Regions from separate parts of the Homo sapiens genome. Here regions 1, 2, 3, 4 and 5 are each linked to region 6. The links are contacts of gene promoters, found by promoter capture Hi-C in blood cells and fetal thymus (Javierre and others, 2016). All regions are on one chromosome and are shown on one strand. The core of a region is centred on a gene start or on the middle of the fragment in contact, and the rest is flanking DNA. Distances in the headings are between cores, read along the strand shown. Region 1 overlaps EXOC6 (exocyst complex component 6). Region 2 overlaps EXOC6 (exocyst complex component 6). Region 3 overlaps EXOC6 (exocyst complex component 6). Region 4 overlaps EXOC6 (exocyst complex component 6). Region 5 holds the start of NOC3L (NOC3 like DNA replication regulator). Region 6 holds the start of CEP55 (centrosomal protein 55).

Evidence for each region. The method cuts DNA at HindIII sites, captures the fragments that hold promoters and counts their contacts. A CHiCAGO score of 5 or more calls a contact.
Region 1: a fragment that was not itself captured here is called in contact with the fragment with the promoter of CEP55 in region 6 in 1 of 17 cell types (M1 macrophages); the score reaches 7.5 in M1 macrophages.
Region 2: a contact is called between a fragment that was not itself captured here and the fragment with the promoter of CEP55 in region 6, in 1 of 17 cell types (M2 macrophages). The highest score is 5.2, in M2 macrophages.
Region 3: a fragment that was not itself captured here is called in contact with the fragment with the promoter of CEP55 in region 6 in 3 of 17 cell types (naive CD4 T cells, activated CD4 T cells and naive CD8 T cells); the score reaches 6.6 in naive CD4 T cells.
Region 4: a fragment that was not itself captured here is called in contact with the fragment with the promoter of CEP55 in region 6 in 3 of 17 cell types (naive CD8 T cells, fetal thymus and total CD8 T cells); the score reaches 5.3 in naive CD8 T cells.
Region 5: the fragment with the promoter of NOC3L here is called in contact with the fragment with the promoter of CEP55 in region 6 in 4 of 17 cell types (activated CD4 T cells, naive CD4 T cells, fetal thymus and 1 more); the score reaches 7.0 in activated CD4 T cells.

What each region holds. Positions count from the first base shown.
Region 1 is chr10:92,943,663-92,946,830 of GRCh38, forward strand. The region is part of intron 13 of EXOC6 (exocyst complex component 6); the gene reads left to right. Among named protein-coding and RNA genes, the nearest start is that of EXOC6, 97 kb to the left of the region's middle. The HindIII fragment of the contact is 239 bases long and covers 1,459-1,697 here.
Region 2 is chr10:92,971,294-92,974,712 of GRCh38, forward strand. It overlaps EXOC6 (exocyst complex component 6), which reads left to right. Exons shown (of 22, transcript NM_019053.6): 18 at 2,760-2,939. Among named protein-coding and RNA genes, the nearest start is that of CYP26C1, 88 kb to the right of the region's middle. The HindIII fragment of the contact is 8,426 bases long and covers 1-3,419 here.
Region 3 is chr10:92,866,247-92,869,593 of GRCh38, forward strand. All of the region lies in intron 1 of EXOC6 (exocyst complex component 6), which reads left to right. Among named protein-coding and RNA genes, the nearest start is that of EXOC6, 19 kb to the left of the region's middle. The HindIII fragment of the contact is 957 bases long and covers 1,257-2,213 here.
Region 4 is chr10:92,891,472-92,894,570 of GRCh38, forward strand. EXOC6 (exocyst complex component 6) reads left to right here. Exons shown (of 22, transcript NM_019053.6): 2 at 1,878-2,049. Among named protein-coding and RNA genes, the nearest start is that of EXOC6, 45 kb to the left of the region's middle. RefSeq lists enhancers at 921-1,420, 2,753-3,099. The HindIII fragment of the contact is 1,457 bases long and covers 942-2,398 here.
Region 5 is chr10:94,361,080-94,364,269 of GRCh38, forward strand. It overlaps NOC3L (NOC3 like DNA replication regulator), which reads right to left and starts at 1,860. Exons shown (of 21, transcript NM_022451.11): 1 at 1,751-1,860; 2 at 586-793. The coding sequence starts at 1,759. RefSeq lists an enhancer at 1,534-1,793 and a silencer at 1,934-2,063. The HindIII fragment of the contact is 1,523 bases long and covers 766-2,288 here.
Region 6 is chr10:93,495,206-93,498,786 of GRCh38, forward strand. It overlaps CEP55 (centrosomal protein 55), which reads left to right and starts at 1,407. Exons shown (of 9, transcript NM_018131.5): 1 at 1,407-1,718. RefSeq lists a silencer at 1,226-1,735. The HindIII fragment of the contact is 5,966 bases long and covers 1,152-3,581 here.

The sequences.
Region 1 (3,168 bases), core at 328-2,827, 550 kb before region 6:
GAATGATTAAATCAAGCAAATTAACATATCCATCACCTCACGTACTTATTTTTTTTTTTTAGTGGTGCAAACATTTAAAATCTACTGTTGGCAATTTGAAATATATGTTACATTATTATTAACCGTAGTCACCTTGCTGTGGAATAGATCTCAAAAACCTATTTCTCCTGTCTGACTGAAACTGTACTCTTTGACAAACATCTTGGCATCTCCCTACCCTGCCTACGCCACTTTCTGATCGCCCTACCCTCTGGTAACCTATAAATCAGAAATCAGGCTTCTCTCTACTTCTGTGAGTGTGACTGTTTTAGATTCCTCATATAAGTGAGATTATGCAGTATTTGACTTCTGTGCCTAGCTTATGTCACTTAGCATAATGTCCTCAAGGTTCATCCTTGTTGTTGCAAATGACAGAATTTCCCTCTTTTATAGGGCTGAATAGTATTCCATTGTGTATATGCACTTTTTTTTAATCCATTCAAAGGTCGATTCCGTATTTTGGCTATTGTGAATAATTCTGCAGTGAACATGGGAATGCAGATAACTCTTTGAGATACCGATCTTTTTTTTTTAATTTTTATTATTTTTTTTGAGACAGAGTCTTTGCTCTATCACCCAGGCTGGAGTGCAGCAGCGTGATCTTGGCTCATGGCAACCTTCGCCTCCCAAGTTCAAGTGAGTCTCCTGCCTCAGCCTCCCAAGTAGTTGGGATTACAGGTGTGCACCACCATGCCCCACTAATTTTTGTATTTTTAGTAGAGACAGGGTTTCACCATCTTGGCCAGCCTGGTTTCAAACTCTGACCTCAAGTGATCCGCCTGCCTTGGCCTCCCAAAGTGCTAGGATTACAGATGTGAGCCACTGTGCCTGGCTTGATACTGATTTTAATTCTTTTGGTTATGCACCCAGAAATGAGATTGCTGGGATCATATAGTAGTTCTATTTTTAGTTTTTTGAGGAACCTCCATCCTGTTTTCCATAATGGATATATTAATTTACATTGCCACCAACAGCGTGCAAAGGTTCCCTTTCTCCACATCCTCACCAACACTTATCTTGTGTCTGTTAGATAATGGCCATTCTCACAGCTGTGAGGTGATACCTCGTTGTATTTTTTTTTTTTTTTTGAGACAGAGTTTCGCTCTTGTCGCTCAGGCTGGAGTGCAATGGTGCAATCTCAGCTCACTGCAACCTCTGCCTCCCAGGTTCAAGTGATTCTCCTGCCTCAGCCTTCCGAGTAGCTGGGATTACAGGCCTGCACCACCACGTCCGTCTAATTTTGTATTTTTAGTAGAGATGGGGTTTCTGTATGTTGGTCAGGCTGGTCTCGAACTCCCGACCTCAGGTGATCTGCCTGCTTCCGCCTCCCAAAGTGCTGGGATTACAGGTGCGAGCCACTGTGCCTGGCCAGCCTTGTTGTATTTTTAATTTGGATTTCCCTGATGATTAGTGATGTTAAGCTTTGCTTATTCCTGATCTGTATACCTGTTGGACATTTTTGTGTCTTCTTTTGATAAATATCTATTCAGGTCCTTTGCCCACTTTTTAATTCAGTTATTTGTTTTCTTCTATTGAGTTGAGTTCCTTATGTATTTTGGATACTAACTCCTTATTATATGTATCAGATATATATCAGCAAATATTTTCTCCCAGTCTGTAACTTGCCTCTTCATTCTGTTGTTTCCTTGCTGTGCAGAAGCTTTTTAGTTTGATCCAGTTTATTTGTCTACTATGGCTTTTGTTGCCTGTGCTTTTGGGGTTATATTTTTAAAAATCATTATCTAGACCAATGCCATGGAGCTATTTATATTCTTGATTGCCTAGCCCTAGTATAGTGCCTGACAGAGTAGGAACTTATACACGTTTATAGAATTTGGTTCTATAAACAGATCATATTAAGACTACATTAACATTCTTAGAATATAAATGTGCCTTTCGTTAAATTATCTCTTCTTCCATAGTAACTGGTTCCCTGGCATTTGTATAAAGTTAGTAGTTTATTGTCTTCTAGTAGTTACTTTCCCTGTAACTTGCCTTTTAACCTTTCATCATTTTTATTTTTATTTTTAAAACAGAGACAGCATTTCGCTGTGTTGCCCAGGCTGGCCTCAAGTGTTCTGCCTGCGTCAGCCTCCCAAAGATTACAGGTGTGAGCCACCTCATTTAGCCCTGCCTTTTAACGTTTTACTTTATTTTTAAACTCTATGTAGAATGAAATAGAATTAGTGAAAGTAAATACCAAAAAAGTAATTTTTGTATTTTTTGGTAGAGCTGGGTGTGGTTGATTAGTGGCGCACACCCTGTAGTCCCAGCTACTCAGGAGGCTAAGGTGTAAGAATCGCTTGAGGCCGGGCACGGTGGCTCACGCCAGTAATCCCAGCACTTTGGGAGGCCAAGGTGGGTGGATCACCAGGTCAGGAGATTGAGACCATCCTGGCTAACACAGTGGAACCCCGTCTCTACTAAAAAAACAAAAAAAAAAAATTAGCTGGGCGTGGTGGCCGGCGCCTGTAGTCCCAGCTGCTCAGGAGGCTGAGGCAGGAGAATGGCGTGAACCCGGGAGGCGGAGCTTGCAGTGAGCCAAGATTGCGCCACTGCACTCCAGCCTGGGTGACAGAGCTAGACTCCGTCTCAAAAAAAAGAATCGCTTGAACCCGGGAGGCTGAGGCTGCAGTGAGCCGAAATTGCACCACCGCACTCCAGCCTGGGCGACAGAGTGAGACCCTGTCTTAAAAAAAAAAATTAAAAAAAGTAAAGCTTTCATTTATGCTACTTCCTTTCTACCCCTACTGTTGCAGCTTTAATTCAGATCCTCGTCACCTTTTATTTAGATTATTCTTCAGTTTTTCTAAGTGATCTCTCTGTGTTCATTATTAGGCTTTTTCCAGTTTATCCTTCACACAGTGAATATCTTCCTATGACATTCCCTTTCCTAAAACCTTTTAATGCCTACAGAGTGAAATCTGGATGTCTGTTTGCACACCTGTCCAATCTCATTTTTCACCATGTCCCTCAGACTTTATACTTTGTAATACTGCACTACTTGTGGTTTTACACCCCCCCACACACTAACGCTCACTCCTTGTGCCTTTGCGTATATATTCCAGTGGTCTAGAATGCTTTTCTCCCATAATCTCTTTAGAAATTTTTTTCATCTGTAAAGACCCT
Region 2 (3,419 bases), core at 419-2,918, 520 kb before region 6:
TTGGCCTCCCAAAGTGCTGGGATTACAGGCGTGAGGCACCACGCCCAGCCTAGTGATTTTTTTTTCACTTCACTTATTGTACTTTTTTTTTTCTTTTTTTAGATGGAGTATCACTCTGTCACCCAGGCTGGAGTGCAGTGGCACCATCTTGGCTCACTGTAACCTCAGCCTCCCAGGTTTAAGTGATTCTCCTGCCTCAGCCTCCCAAGTAGCTGGGATTACAGGCACACACCACCACGTGTGGCTAATTTTTTGTATTTTTAGTAGAGATGGGGTCTCACCATGTTGGCTAGGCTCATCTCGAACTCTTGACCTCAGATAATCCACCCACCTGCCTCGGCCTCCCAAAGTGCTAGGATTACACGCGTCACTTATTGTACTTTTTAATAATTTCTATTTATATTCCCTATTTATTGATGTATTCTCATAATTTTCTTTTAGTTCTTTAGATATGGTTTCCTTTTGTTCTTAAGTTTTTGTCTTATAAGTTCAACATCTGAGCTGCCTCACAGTTTCTATTGGTTGCTTTTTTTCCGTGTATTGGTCATACTTTGTTTCTTTGCATAACTTGTCATTTTTTGTTGATAACTGTACATTTATAATAATATAAGATGACAACTTTGGAAGTTCTCACCTCTCCCAAGGGTTTGTTGTTTCTCCCATCTGTTGTTTGTTTTGTGACCTTTCTGAACTAAATCTGTAAGTCTGTGTTCTTTGTCATATGTGGCCACTGAAGTCTTTGCTTGGTTAGCTTAGTGGTCATCTGGTGATTGGATACAGATCTGCTTAAAAGCCTGGAACCTGTAAGTCCCCTAGTCTTTGCCAAAGGGCTCCGTGCACATGTTGGGGTGTGTCTTAAACACTGAGATAGGAAGTTAATCACTCTGCTTTGACTTTTACTTCCTGCTTGCACATGATACCAGTGGGCTAGGGGACGTCCCCAAATGCTGCTGGGACCTTGATCCCAGCCAGTGTCCAGGCTCTTGATACTGTCGTGAGAAGGAATTCAAGGATGAGTCAGAAAATAGTGAAAGTATGGAGACTTAATTGCAAAACAAAAAAGTACACATTCAAGAGAGGGGAGTGCAGGCACACTTGAGAGAGAGAGAGTGAGTGAGTCATGCACAAGGTGGGGTGGAGCTGCTATCTTTATGAATTTCTTTAACCAAGGGATGAAATATTCATGATGATTCCTGGAAAAAGGTGGAATTTTTTTTGGAACTGTGGTGCCACCTGTTTTTACACCAAATATGAGTGTTCCTAAAATTGTCATGGCACTGGTGGGTATGTGATATAGTATGTTATGAGTGTACATTGAGCCCTGGGTGAAACTTAGGCCAAATCTATCACCATGTTGAGTCCTGTCAGTCTTAGCCAGCATGGTTTACACCCTGTTTTTCAGGGTCTTGTCTTATCAGCCCATAGCTTCTGCAGCTATTTCAACAGTTTCCTTTGGCTAGTCACATAAAACTGCTGCCTAGAATTTCATTTTCTCCTGTCACTACCCTGTTTTATTTCTGTCTTGCACAGAGCTTCAAGGTCAGCCATAAATGAGAGCTTGGAGCCTTCTTAGGTCTTTCCCAAGTGTGTACACAGCCCTATGTATGTATGTGGCCGTTTAGATGCCCAGGAATCTGTTAGAGCTTTTCAGAGTCATCTGTGGACATTTTATTCCCTAATTTTTCCTTTTAAGCCCTTTGGTTGACCTATCGTTTGTCCCAGTTGTTACCTACCATCTCAGGCATCCTCCATGTTAAACTTATTGCCTCTAATTGTTTTTGACAGCTGCCCCTGGGGAAAAGGCTTTTTGTACTAGGCAAGTCCTGATTCAGGTCAAATAAAGACATCCCTGTAAATAGGCATGGAGTCTTCCAGGGAACCACCAGATAGGTCAAATAATGATAATTCTCTGAGAATGTGGCTTTGAAGGAGCTGCAGCTCTGTTCTGTCTGCTTTGATAGCTGGCAAGCTATAGGTTTCCACCAGAGTTTTAGAATGTTGTCTTTTGAGAGTACTGTAGAGCTGGAACAGAGGAAGAATAATGGAAATAGGGCACATTAAAATGCTACAAAGCTCATTTTTCTACCAAGATTTAGCTGTTTTTCTTGAATAAATGATGCCTGTATTTCTGCAAGTTTTGAACTAATTTTCAGAGTTCTGAAAAGGTTGATTTTGACAATTTTTGATAAGTTTTCTGGTTACTTTTATGGATGAGAAAATGTTTGGAGATCCTCCCGCTGTTATTTTTGCTGGCATCACTCCTATTGTTTCTTTCTTCTCAGAGAAATTAACTATCTCAATCTCTTTCTCTTCTGCCTCCACCCCTGCTTAAACTCAAAGCACTGGCAGATATTCCATTTCTTCTGTGATAGTCCAACTTAATTGCTCTCAGTGAATCAGGGGTTAGATAGAGGTGGTCTTCTGTGTTCTTGGCAACTTTCGTTTTTCTACTTCTGTTTCTCCTAAGGGTCCTCTTAGAGTTGTGAGAACAAGTCAGGAATTAATATCTCATAAAGTATTCTATCACATAAAGACAAAAAAAGGTGATAGGTTAGAAAGGAACTAAGAAAAGATGTGATGTGATATCCAGTCAAATAAATAGAGTACTGCCAGAAAAAAAAAACCAACAGTTTTCCTGGACTTTGAATAAATGGCTAAAATATTAAACCAAAGGTAAATGTAAAATAATATCTAGAATTGTAAGAACACTTGTTTTATTATCTGTTTCTTGTCTTTGTTGTTATTTTGTCCCATGTCAGGATGCTCGACATGCAGCAGAAGGAGAAATATATACCAAACTGAATCAAAAAATTGATGAATTTGTTCAGCTTGCTGATTATGACTGGACAATGTCTGAGCCAGATGGAAGAGCTAGTGGTTATTTAATGGACCTTATAAATTTTTTGAGAAGCATCTTTCAAGTGTTTACTCATTTGCCTGTAAGTATAAAAATTTTCAAAAATTGTTTTATGTTTGCTTACTAAAGTATATTTTAGAATTTAGTTTGAGGTTTCCTTGCTTAAACCAACTTCTTGGAGTGCATGTTTCTTTCTCCATTATTATAAATCCATTTGTAAGGAATTATAACTTAGCCAAATTGTTTGAAATTTTAATTTATTTTATTTTTAACCAAAATAACTGTAACTCTCTTTCCACCAAAGCCAAGGCAAAACCCTGAAACTGACAATATAGACTTAAATAGAAATAATCTCTAATAGAAATAATTTACATAGAGTTAACACAATTGCTCGTCTCCCTCTCCCGTCTCCCTCTCCCCACGGTCTCCCTCTCCCTCTCTTTCCACGTCTCCCTCTGATGCCGAGCCGAAGCTGCACTGTACTGCTGCCATCTCGGCTCACTGCAACCTCCCTGCCTGATTCTCCTGCCTCAGCCTGCCGAGTGCCTGCGATTGCAGGCGC
Region 3 (3,347 bases), core at 485-2,984, 630 kb before region 6:
TAAACATTGAGAACTGTCTGTTGTACACAAGAATTTTATCACACTTGGAAAACTCATGAGCACACGTAATATAAACTCCTATAGCCACAAACATTCCTTTTATACCTTCTTAAAGTGGCAAAACTGAACACTTTCATTAACATGTCCCAAAACCATAGCCTTTATATAACATATAAAGAAACAAATATATAAACTTAATTGTGCTTAGTAATCAGTCGTCTTGGGTTCTGTTGTACTAAAAATTAATTAGATATCCAATTATTATTTATTAATTAACTTAATATCAAGGTTTTGTTACCTAAAAATGTTGGAAATTATTTTCATACATGTTTAAATTAAAAGTTTGTCAGAATAATTTATTTGAGCGCGAGTTTACCTTTTCATCATCTTAAATATTATGTAGGGTAATGTTAGCTTATGTGATCAGTAAACCTGTATGTGTTTAGGAAAAAAAATCTTAGCAGAATAAAATGATTAATCAGAGACAAGAAATAGCTATTTTTAAAAACTGAAATTATCAAGGTTTGCCAAAATTGTATCTTATTTAGGTGACCTTGGGTTTTAAAAATGTTTTTGAGTTAGTTTCCATAAGAATTTTTCTTAAGTCTAACACATTTAACATATTAGAAGTTCAATTTCCTTGTTTTGGGGGAATTTTACAAATATTCTATTTATATAAGTACTTATTTGTATCAATAAGCCAGTCAGAACAGAGTTTCTTTCATTCAAGAGACTTTATAGTTTAAACTATTAATAGAGATAACTTGTTTTACATACTTAATGAAGAGGTAAAAGTCTTTCTGAATTACAGATGCAGAGCTTTGTAACTTTGTTTCTGTAACTTCACTCACAGGTCAAGAGATGTAAGAGTCACAGAGATAGAAAAACTCATTGGTCCAGATGTCAAAGACCTGTTCTTGGTGGACATGAAATTCTTAACTGGATTTGAGCTCAGAATAAACAGATATGTTAAAAAGACTAACAAACCAAAGTCTCTTTTATCTTTTACCCAAGTGATCTCTATCATCCGTCTATAAGGATCACCAAGTAAATGATCATAAAATCGAATTCTCAATCATTGCTGCCATTTAGGGGTGATAACTTACTGGCCATGCAGTAACTAGAAACCACACCAGAACATATAATTTGTAGAGAGGATGGGGGAAGCGGGGATGACCCAGAGAAACAGGCAGCAAAGTTAAGTATATATTGCTGCTTGGGTTTTACTTCTGGGAGCCAAGAAAAGATAATACCCAAGCTTGAGTAGCCCATGAGGTGCAATTATCTGATAAAGCAGTTTTCTTGGCTCTGTCAGGTGAATGCACTGGGCATTTTGGTAAAACTTCCAAAACTATTAAAAGATAATTTTCAAAAAGGTAAAATCATGACCCTCACACAAATGTAAAATGAATATGTGCCAAAGATTGTATTTAACTTATTAAGAGGGAATCAGTATGATGTTACAACTGTTTCAAAGGCAATGGCAAAAAACAATATAGGATTTGGGAATGCTGAGATGGATATATAAATGGATACACAACTGGTCAGTATCCACAGGGCAGTAATCAATTGTATTCCACTGACAAAAATATATCTGCATTTTTTTGGACAAGAGTCATTTGCATTAGTATCAGCTTTCTACAATTTATAAAGTTGTAAAATAGCCAAAAGACAGTGAAAGGCACAGATAACCCCAAAATATGCTAGATAGGACATTCAGTAATCTTTTTTGTCCATTTCAGTTTTTTAAAATTGCCATTAGAAACATTTTTTTCATTTGTCTTTTTACTGTAGTTATACTTTTATTTTTTGCTGTGCAAAAGTTTTTTATTTTATGAAATAAAATTTATCAGTCTTTCCCTTTTTAGCTTGTGAATTTTGAGTCATAGGAAAGTTTTCCAGATTCCGGAGTTATAGGGGAGTCCACCCATGTTTTCTTTTGGTACTTGTATGGTGTTTTTTAATGTTGCATCTGATTCTGTTTGCATTTTCCTGGGGTGTGGCATGAGGAGTGGCTCTTTATCTTTTTTCACGTGGCAACCCAGCTATCCTAGTACCTCTTATTAAAATGTAGGTCTTTTTCATGTTGATTTGAGATGGTGCCATTATCATGTACTGAATTTTTATACGCAGTGATACTGTATGTGGGTTTCTTGGTTCTGTTCATTGTCTATATGTCTATTCATGTGCTATGCAGCACTTTTAATTTTGGAAGCTTCGTTGTTTTAATATCTGGTAGGGCTACCTGCATCTCATCGCTTATCTTTTTCAGGGATTTCCTGGTGACTCTTCCTTATTTCTCTAAACAAACAATAAATTTCTCTAGTTCTAGAACACTCAAAGTATTTGATTGGGATTGAGCTATAATTATAAATTAATTAGGGAGAACAGGCATGTTGATGATATTGAGTCTTCCTATCCAAGAACATGTTATGTCTTTCAAGAGAGTTAAACTTTTCCATAAATAAATTTTAGAATTCCTTAAGATTATGTGTAGGTGTTTTTTCTCACTATTTTAATTGGGCCCTCCCTTCCTTCCTCCCTCCCTTCTTTCCTCCCTCCCTCCCTCTTTTTTTTTTTTTTTTTGAGACAGGTTCTTGCTAGAGACCAGGCTGGAGGGCAGTGGCATGATCATGACTCACCTTGTAGCCTCAACCTCCTGGGTTCAAGTGATTCTCCCACCTCAGCCTTCCGAGTACCTGGGACTAAAACCTTTAGTATTTTCTCATTAGGAGAGCTCTGGCTTTTGTGCTGAGGGATTTATATTTTATCATGTTAAGGAAACATTCATCAATACCCACTTTATTTAGTGTTTTTAACAAGAAAGTTTGTTGAATTTTGTCAGATGTTTTTCAGCATCTATGAAGATGGTCATACGATTGTTTTGCTCCATCAGTGTGATTGAAATTAGTGCTTGGCTAATTTTTAAAATTTTTTGTAGAGATGAGGTCTTACCCTGTTGCCTAGGCTGGTGTCAAACTCCTGGGCTTAAGTAATCCTCCCTCCTTGGCCTTCCAGAGTGCTGGATTACAGGCATGAGCCACCATGGCAGGCCCTTTCTTTTAAAAAAAAAAAAAAATGAGACAGGGTCGCACTCTGTTGTCCAGGCTGGAGTGCAGTAGCATGATCACCGCTAGCTGTAACCTCAAATTCCTGGGCTTAAGGGATCCTCTCATTTCAGCCTCCTGAGTAGCTAGGACTATAGGCACATGCCACCATAACTGACTAATTTTTATTTTTCCTTGTAGAGGCAGGGTCTCACTATGTTGCTCAGGCTGGTCTCAAACTCCTCACCTCAAGTGATCCTCCTTACTTGGCCTCCTAAAGTATTGGGATTGTAGATGTGA
Region 4 (3,099 bases), core at 420-2,919, 600 kb before region 6:
AAGAACCTAAATTCTTTTTTTTCTTTTTTAGACGGAGTTTCACTCTGTCACCCAGGCTGGGGTGCAGTAGTATGATCTTTGCTCACTGCAACCTCTGCCTCCCGGGTTCAAGCGATTCTCCTGCCTCAGCCTCCTGAGTAGCTGAGATTACAGGCACCTGCCACGACACCCAGCTAATTTTTGTATTTTTAGTAGAGACAGTGTTTCACCATGTTGGCCAGGCTAGTCTCAAACTCCTGACCTCAAGTGATCTGTCCGCATCGGCTCCCAAAATGCTGGGATTACAGGTGTGAGCCACTGCACCTGGCTGCCAAGAGTCTAAATTCTTAATAATTGGTATCCTATATTGTTACCTCTTGTATTAGAGAGTGTATTCATTAAAAACCTAAGACAGAGGCTACCCTCAAGAAGTTTATGGTCTATTTGGGGAAACAAAATATATTTTAAATACAAAACATGTAAATTACAATACAAAGTAATATATGATTACGTGTCAGAATAACTGTAAGGGGTTGTAAGTTTACCTGTCCTGCAGATGAAAAGATTACTTGGCATGGGAATGATTGGCAAAGGCCTGCTGGAAGAAATGGGACTTGAAATGAACCTCAAACAATGGGCAACGGATGTGGGGTGAGGTTTGGAAAGTTCCCAAGACCACTCTCAGGTTCAAAAATTTGCTAGAGGGACTTGCAAAATTCAGCAAAGTTGTTACACTCATAGTTACTGTTTGTTACAGCAAAAACAACAACAACAAAAACTTTCAAAAAACTACACAGATTAAAATCAACAGCAGAAAAGGCACATAGGACAGGGACTAGGAGAGTTCCACGAGTGAGCTTTCAGTTGTCCTTTCTCAGTGGAATTGTGGACAGCACTTACTGCTCCCAGCAGTGATGTGTGGTAACACGCATGGAGTATTGTCAATCAGGGAAGCTCATCCAAGCTTTGATATCCAGGAATTTTATTGGAGTTTGGTCATATAGCCATGACTGACTACCCATGTAGACTTGGCTGACTGCCCACATTGCTGACCTCCTGCCCCTCCACAGCTAAAACTGTGTGGCCTCAGGCCTCACCGTGAGTCACACTGTTAGCATCTGCTATTTGGCAGTCAAAGCCTTCCAGGTAAACAAAGAAGACACTTACCAGGCAGGGTATGCCAAAGGCTTTCCTCCCAGGAATCAGTGGCAAGGGTAGTCCTTTACTGCATGGTGAATAGAGGGGTACGCTCTCTGTGGAGACAGCATGAGCTGAGAGACAGTAGGAATGAATATGCCATGTTTAGGAAACATTGTGGTGACTGCAATATGGGCTTGTACCTGAGAATATGAACCCTGGAGCCGGACTATCAGGAGTCATATCCCAGCTATCACTTGTGCTGGTTGTGGAATTTATGGCAGTTCAGTAATCTGTAACTCTTCTGTAAAACAAGGGTAATAACAATACCTACTTTGTAGCCTTGTTGTGGGGATTAAAGAGTTAATATATAAAGCATTTAGAACATGAGCGTTTACTTTACATAGTAAATGCTGTAAAAATCATGAGTTTGTTCATTCATTCTTTAACCATTCATTCACTCAGTAATTCTTTGTTTTTGAATGTTAGTATGTTAAAGACTTGTATTAGGCCCACATCTCCTGAGCCTCATACCTTTATTTCCAGATACCTCATGCTATATCTAGAGCTTGTGTGGTTCTTTTAATATTATCATGTTCAAGAAGAAATAAAATACTTTCACGCAAATTATTTCTGCTAAAGGTAATATTATCACCAGTTTATTTGTTCAGAGATTTAATTTTAAGATATCACCTCTTGCAAAGATCAGGCTTACTAAATAATACATTTTGGTTAATTTTAGCTTTCTTATATACATTCAGGTCTGTGTATGATGACCAACCAAATGCGCACAAGAAGTTTATGGAAAAGTTAGATGCTTGTATCCGTAATCATGACAAGGAAATTGAAAAGATGTGTAATTTTCATCATCAGGGTTTTGTAGATGCTATTACAGAACTCCTTAAAGTAAGGACTGATGCAGAAAAACTGAAGGTAAGAAATATGTTAAAATTATTTGCCTTTGTTCTCATTAAATTACTCAAGTCTTAGTTGATAGTACATATGTACAAGTCATTATTAAGTATGTTACTTTCAAGAAGTGAATTAGTATATGTATTAGGGAATGCTCTTTATGCTCTATTAACACAGTTGTCATGCTAATGACAGGAGTATTCTCTTTTTCTGAAGCAAGTAATGCACTGACTTAACAGGATTTCTTTCCATGCAGGGAAGTGAACTCAAAACATGCATACAATGAAAGGCCCTATTTGCAGTTTTTGAATTTCTAAAATGACAGTTAGTACAATATTTATAAAATGTTATCCTCTAAAATTCCTTTAAAAGCTTATGATAAATAGTTATGTTCTCAGCATTATTTAATAATGTTAAAACTTTTTGAAAAGTTTAACAGCAGTGTGTATTTTTCTTAAAGAAAGTTGGTCTACACTTTCTGCCATACAGCTAAAACATTATTTATTAAAAGAGACCTAGATTTGTTCAGTCAGGATAAAAAATATTTAATTATAAGAATTGTCCTATTTATCTTTCTTTACGTTTAGAGCACTTAGCAGACAAAATGACCCTGGTTCACCAAAGGTTATGATTAGAAAACCATTGTATAAAGGATATTCAGATAACAAGAGACTAACTACAGCATCAATGAGGTCACTGAGCATCTTTGTTCAGAAATTAATGAGATTTTTAATAAACCAGAATGTGCTTCCTTACTATGATGACCTAATGAGTCACTTAATATGTGGGAAAATTTGAGGTTGAGCTTTGCCTGCACCTGCAGCATTAAAATGTTGCTGTGGATTGAAATTTCTGTGTTTGATGTTAATCAACCACCCAGTGTTTGCATTCAGCAAAGTATGAATGTTTAATTACCATAAAATGCAATCACCATTTCCTACAGACAATGAATGGCACATAGACCTCATTGAAGTTATCAAAAGGGGACCAGTGGTCAATTGGGTCAGTGATTTGAATTGTTTGACAGACTTAGAGAAGCAAGTAAAGTTCAAAAATCCTGAGTAAATTTGA
Region 5 (3,190 bases), core at 610-3,109, 870 kb after region 6:
ATAGTCAAATAAGAATACCCTAAAAGTACCAGCAAAGTTGTAGAACTAGCCTGACTCAAAATAGTCATATTCCTTACAAGTTTTGAGTACTTAATAATTTTTAGATAGTTTTACAAAATAACCATGACAATTACAACTCAATTTCACCCCAAGTTTCCACATGAAAAGAAAGTCAGAAGTTTAGAAGTGTACCTTGGCAATACTGTGAAGAATGAACCAGAGACAAGCAATGTTCTTACCTTACCTAACTGCTGGTGAATGGCAAAGTGGCAGCACTGGCACACTGCCCAATATTTATGTAACGGAGTACTTTCAGTTTGTTTTCCCAAGTAGTGCATCTTCAGATCTGCCTTCCAGACAAACTAAAAGCAGAAGCTTGAATGAATACTGTATTGAAATGTTTTCTCATACTGACTGTGATAAAGCATATATGCTTTATAGCAGTCCTATAGGACTACTATCCTTACCCACTCTAGGAAGATCTGAGAACAAGAAAAGCGATTACTAGAAAGCAAAGTTATTTCCATGAAGAACACTTCAGAATAAATCAATGGAAACCAGAGCACATGATGTTTTCACAATTACCTGGTCGCTTTTCCTTTGGGTTCTCCAATGGAATGGGTTTCTTAGACACAGCATCTTTCACAGCTTGCCTTAGTTTCCTCTGTTCTTTTCGGTACTTCTTGAGAGTGCTTTGTTGTTTAAACTGCTTATTTTTTAGCTTGTTTTCAAGTTTGACTTTACTAGTTTTTATTAACTTGCGAAAGCTTGGGATCTGTTTTTTATTTCTTCTCTAGAAAATAACAGAAAGAATACTGCATACCCAGAAACTTATTTTTTAAATCAGGTTAAAGAGAACTGATTACAAATTTCATTAGACCAATTCCACAATTTCAATGTCCCACAGCCACAGACTTGCATATAAAAGCTAAAACCAAACGATGGCTTTAATCCTACAGAAGAGCGCTACAGCATCAGTTATTCAATCCCAATTCACAGCAATTCAAAGGGTTCTACGATCCCCAAACAGGTTAAGAACCACTGATCTAGTAGTGGTAAGTGGCTATTCAAGGCTAGTTTAACACACCTGTAGTTTAACACATTCAAAGCAAAATGCTGGCTGTCTTTAATAAAACTTACATTTATCTACGATTTTATTACTTACAAAGTGCTCCAACAAATCACCTCTAACAGCCTAGTTGAGTACTGACTGCTGTTATCCTCACATTACTGATGAAGCTGCCAAAAGACCCATAAACTAAGGAGGGCAAAACTGAATTCGGATCTTTGGATTCCACTTCTCTTGCTGGTGACTCATTCAGAAATCCCAAAGTTAGTCCTGAACCCCAGGACTACCTCTTATTTTCTGGGAGAACCAGGACAAATCACTTGCTTTTCTATCTCTTTACCCTTCATGGGTACCGTGACTCACATTATAAACTCGCTGAGGGTAGGACCCTGCTTCTCATTTGTGAAAAACGAGTTCGAAAGACGGTCTTGAAAAATTCCTTCAAAGTATGAAATCCCACGCATGCAAAACTCCGTGCCTGTCTCTTCGTGATACTCTGAAGTGGTGCGCGCACACAGTGGGTAACCAAGGATGAGCTCGGTGTAAGGAATGGAAAGCCCCCAGTCTAAACCACCGCCCCCTAGACACGGGTGAAAACCTGCCTAAAAGCTAACTCAGGCAGTGACTCTATCACCCGAAGGGGCCCTAGGCCGCGGCGACCGGGCTTTTGAGGACACTTACCGCCTTCATCCTTAGGCCTTAAATGAATGCCGGCCAGACAAGTTCACCAGAAGCAGGGTTACTACAGAAATCCCGGGGAATGACACACGTGCCGAAGTCCCTACACTACCAGAGCCGGAAACGGCCTTCAGTCCCTCCCAATCCTCCGCCGCCGGAAGTGAGGGCGGGACTTCCGTAGACAGGTTCGGGCTCGCGCCCTCTCGCGGTGACTGTCTCGCGGCCCTGGACCGGTTGCCCCCCGGCGTGCGCGCGCGGACTGGCACGAGGGAAGCCCCGAGGGCGTCGGTGCCAAAGGCGGGAAGCCGGGCGGGAGGGGCGCATTTTGCAAGGTTATCTGAGTATGATTCTTTGACTCTCGCCCTATTTATTTCTTTTAAAACCTTGGGGAAATCGGGCTCCTCCTCTCAGAATGAGAGGACTTGGTTTTTTCGGTCACCTCATTGCATTTTGTGCCTCTCCTCACGTTGCTTATCTCATGCTGTTATAGATACTGATTTTCGTAGTCTTTTTCCTCCATACAGTCCTGAGGGCAGAAAGAAGCTTATTTTTTGTGTGTAATGCCTGCCCCTCGACGGACATTCTGGCCGTGTTTGTAGCATGGCGAATGATTTCTCATCAGCCTTGGTCACTTAAAAGTCTGTGATTCTTAGTGTTTTATTTTGCATTTTTTTTTTGCTTTAATTTTTAACCATTAGCTGATAAAGAACTGTATCCATGGCTGGGTGCGGTGGTTCACGCTTGTAATCCCAGCACTTAGGGAGGCAGAGGCGGGTGGATCACCTGAGTTCCAGGAGTTCGAGACCAGCCTGGCCAACATGGTGAAACCCTGTCTCTACTAAAAATACAAAAATCAGCCAGACATGGTGGCGTGCGCCTGTAATCCTAGCTACTCGGGAGGCTGAGGCAGGAGAATCGCTTGAACCCAGGAGGCAGAGGTTGCAGTGAGTCGAGATCACACCACTGCACTCCAGCCTGGGTGACAGAGCAAGACTGTCTAAAAAATAAAAATAAAAATAAAAAACTGTATCTGCATTTCAGTATCTTACAACTTTGGGTAAATTCTGTCTGCTTAGTAATTTCACCAAAGTCGTTTTTTGTTTTTGTTTTTTGAGACGGAGTCTTGCTCTGGCGCCCAGGCTGGAGTGCAGTGGCGCAATCTGGGCTCATTGCAAGCTCTGCCTTCTGGGTTCACGCCATTCTCCTGCCTCAGCCTCCCGAGTAACTGGAACTACAGGCGCCCGCCACCACGCCCAGCTAATTTTTTTTGTATTTTTAGTAGAGACGGGGTTTCACCGTGTTAGCCAGGATGGTCTCGATCTCCTGACCTCGTGATTCGCCCACCTTGGCCTCCCAAAGTGCTGGGATAACAGGCATGAGCCACCGCGCCCCGCCTAAAGTCGTTCATTTTTACAGGAAGTTTTATGGATTGCAAGAATAAGA
Region 6 (3,581 bases), core at 157-2,656:
TCTTTCATGTAAAAAAATTTTAAAGTTTTAAAATTAGAGACAGGGATTGGGTGGGGTGAGAGTGGATCTCTCTGTGTTGCCCAGGCTGGTCTCCAACTCCTGACCTCAAGCAATCCTCGCTCCCCGTCCTCACGTAGTGGTGGGATTACAGGAATTAGCCATTCCACCTGGCCGGATTTCCTCATTTAATCCTTATAACCGAGCTGTGAAGTAAATATTATTATTTGCATCATTTTACACATCGGGAAACCGAGGCTCAAATAGGTTAAATAAATTTATCCAAGGAGACACATCTAGTCAGGGCAGTAAGGAATTAAATCTAGAAAGTCCTAATCTAGAGTTTATAACCTTTGTACAATATTGTGTACCTAGGATGTTTTGCTACTGTGTATCTACTGTTTTAAATCTCCAGCGAGTTTATGCTGGGTCTAGGAGAGAAAGGGAGGCCCTGCTAAACATTTCATGTGCTTCTTCTCTCAGCAGTAACGTTCTCAAAGCGGCTAATCAAGAGCTAGAATCGATCAATAGATAGATATCAGGCTGGAGGGTAGCAGTCTGGTCTGAAAGCCGGTCCGCTAGCATTCATAATCTCAGCGTTCAACCTGGGCGTGCCTCTCATCTCTCCCGTTAACACTCCCTGCTGTGCTGCTGATTTTTGGCAGTAATCCCAGCACTTTAGGAGGCCGAGGTGGAAGGATCACTTGAAGGCAGGAGTTCGTGATCAGAGTGGGAAACAAAGTGAGACCACCCCCCCCCCCCCCCACTCCGCTGTCTGTATAAAATTTTTTAATAAAAAATTAGCCGGGCGTGGTGGCGTGCGCCTGTAGTCTCAGCTACTCGGCAGGCTGAGGCAAGACGATCGCTTGAACCCGGGAGACTGAGGTTGCAGTGAGCTATGATTGCACCACTCCACTCCAGCCTGGGCGACAGAGTGAGACCCGAGGGGATGACAAGGGGGCTGTGCTCCTTTGTGAAATCCCGTTGTCCCAGGGCAGGAGGGGCCGCACTTCACACAGGGAGAATCTATGCTCAAGAGCGCAGAACTAGTTCGTCTCGGTCCATCGTCACTGGTTTTATCCCATTAAAAATAGTAATTTGCTTTCTCCTAAAAGCGTATAAACACAAAACCAGCCCCTGACTGCGAGACACCAAGCTTGTTTAGGTCTAAGCCCGCAGAGAACCCCCGATCCCAGAATTAGCTGGCGGGCCCGGGAGGAAGTGTTCCCGCCCTCTGTCCCGCCCCGCGGCCCCAGCCACTTCTCGGCCCGCCCTCAGGTTTACTCTCCGCCCTTCAAAGGCGGCAGCCAATCGGGGAGCCGCGTCCCCGCCGCGCGCGCGCTGCTCCTCCTTCTTGCGGGCCGCGCCCTGCCGGCAGTGACGTGCCCCGCCCTGCAGCCGCGGGATTCAAACTCCCGGAAGCGGCATCCACACCTGATGGTGTGACTCGGCCGACGCGAGCGCCGCGCTTCGCTTCAGCTGCTAGCTGGCCCAAGGGAGGCGACCGCGGAGGGTGGCGAGGGGCGGCCAGGACCCGCAGCCCCGGGGCCGGGCCGGTCCGGACCGCCAGGGAGGGCAGGTCAGTGGGCAGATCGCGTCCGCGGGATTCAATCTCTGCCCGCTCTGATAACAGTCCTTTTCCCTGGCGCTCACTTCGTGCCTGGCACCCGGCTGGGCGCCTCAAGACCGTTGTCTCTTCGATCGCTTCTTTGGACTTGGCGGTGGGTATCATCTCCTTACAGATAGGCGCAGAGAGGCCAAGTGACTTGCCCAAGGTCTTTTGTTAGGACGGCTTTTTCCGATTGGCAGGCACTTTCGTTGTGTGTTCCTCAAACATCTTTATTTTAGAAGTGAGAAAACTTGTGCCTTTTTTTGCAGTTTCTCTTTTCCTGTCTGTCTCCTCAAGTGAGATTTTATGTGGGAATTTTTAAAGATTGGCGTCGCCTTGTAGAAGATGCGGCTTGTAATTGAGGCCTTGTACCATTTACTGGATGGAAGCGCTTGTTTGGTCACCTGTCCAGCATGACTTAGGTCACTTCAGCTAATCAACCAATCATTTCTTTTCTTTTTTCTTTTTTTTTGAGATGGAGTCTCGCTCTGTCACCAAGGCTGGAGTGCAATGGCACGATCTTGGCTCACTGCAACCTCTGCCTCCTGGGTTCAAGCGATTCTCCTTCCTCAGCCTCCTGAATAGCTGGGACTACAGGCGTGCGCCACCACGCCCGGTTAATTTTTGTATTTTTAGTAGAGACAGGGTTTCGCCATGTTGGGCAGGCTGGTCTCGAACTCCTGACCTCAGATGATCCACCTGCCTCGGCCTTCCAGAGTGCTGGGATTACAGGCGTGAGCCACCGCGCCCGGCCCCAATCAACCAATCATATCTGAGGGCTTGCTGTTAGGCTCTGTGGGTAACAACAACAACAACAAAAATCAAAGTGCAGTCCTTGAAAAAATAGTTGAACAATTGAAAAAATAAAAGGTTAGCAGGAAGTGTAATTGGGTACTAGATTGTGTAGGGGTGGGGGTGGGGCAGCTATATCGTTTGTTAAGAGTTCACAGAGGGAAGGCATGCTGAGGAAGGTTTGAACTGGGGGAACCCTGTGGATGACTGGAATAGGAAATACAGGGAAAGGTGGCCGGGCGCGGTGGTTCACGCCTGTAATCCCAGCACTTTGGGAGGCCGAGGCGGGCAGATCACTTGAGGTCAGGAGTTCGAGACTAGCCTGACCAATATGGTGAAACCTCATCTCTACTAATAGATAAAAAAAAATTAGCCAGGCGTGGTGACGCGCACCTGTAGTCCCAGCTACTCAGGAGGCTGAGGCAGGAGAATCCCTTGAACCCGGGAGGCGGAGGTTGCAGTGATCTGAGATAGTGCCACTGCACTCCAGCCTGGGCGACAGAGCGAGACTCTGCCGCCCCTAACGCCCCGCCCCCGCCAAAAAAAAAAAGAAAGAAACAGAAACAGAAAAAAGAAAATACAGGGAAAGGAGGTTGGTGGGACTAGGTGGTGGGGGAGATCCAAACCGTCTGGGCCAGAGGCTAGAAACTAGTAGTCATTCATTCACTGCCAGAGTTTCTGTGCAAAGGTTAGGAAGCAGATGTTTGGGGGTTCTTTCACGTTCTGCAGATCTATATTTCCATCATTTTGTGTCTCAATGACTTGGTAGTAGTTTTCTGTCCTACGACCCACGATATCAAGTCAACAGTGTGTTATCAACAGAAACACATAGGAAAGAACTTCCTGTGGCAGCAGGTGACTGAGAGACGCCATAACCTTGCATTTCTTTAACTGATGGATGAGCTACTGCAATCTTTCACCTTATAATGGCAAAAATCCAGGACTAACCTTTTGATAGATGATTTCTTCTACTCAATCTCCACAGTTCTAATATGTTTAGACGTTCTGATTTCACACAGGACAATCTTAAAAGTCACTTCACTACCATTCTAAGGAGGTCTCTCCTGTTTTTACTGATATCATTTATCCCTGTACTTCTCTTGTGTAATATTTATTACAGTTTGAGGATTCATGAACCCTTGTTTGTTTCCTTGTTATTGCCTGCCTTTACTACACTGAAAGC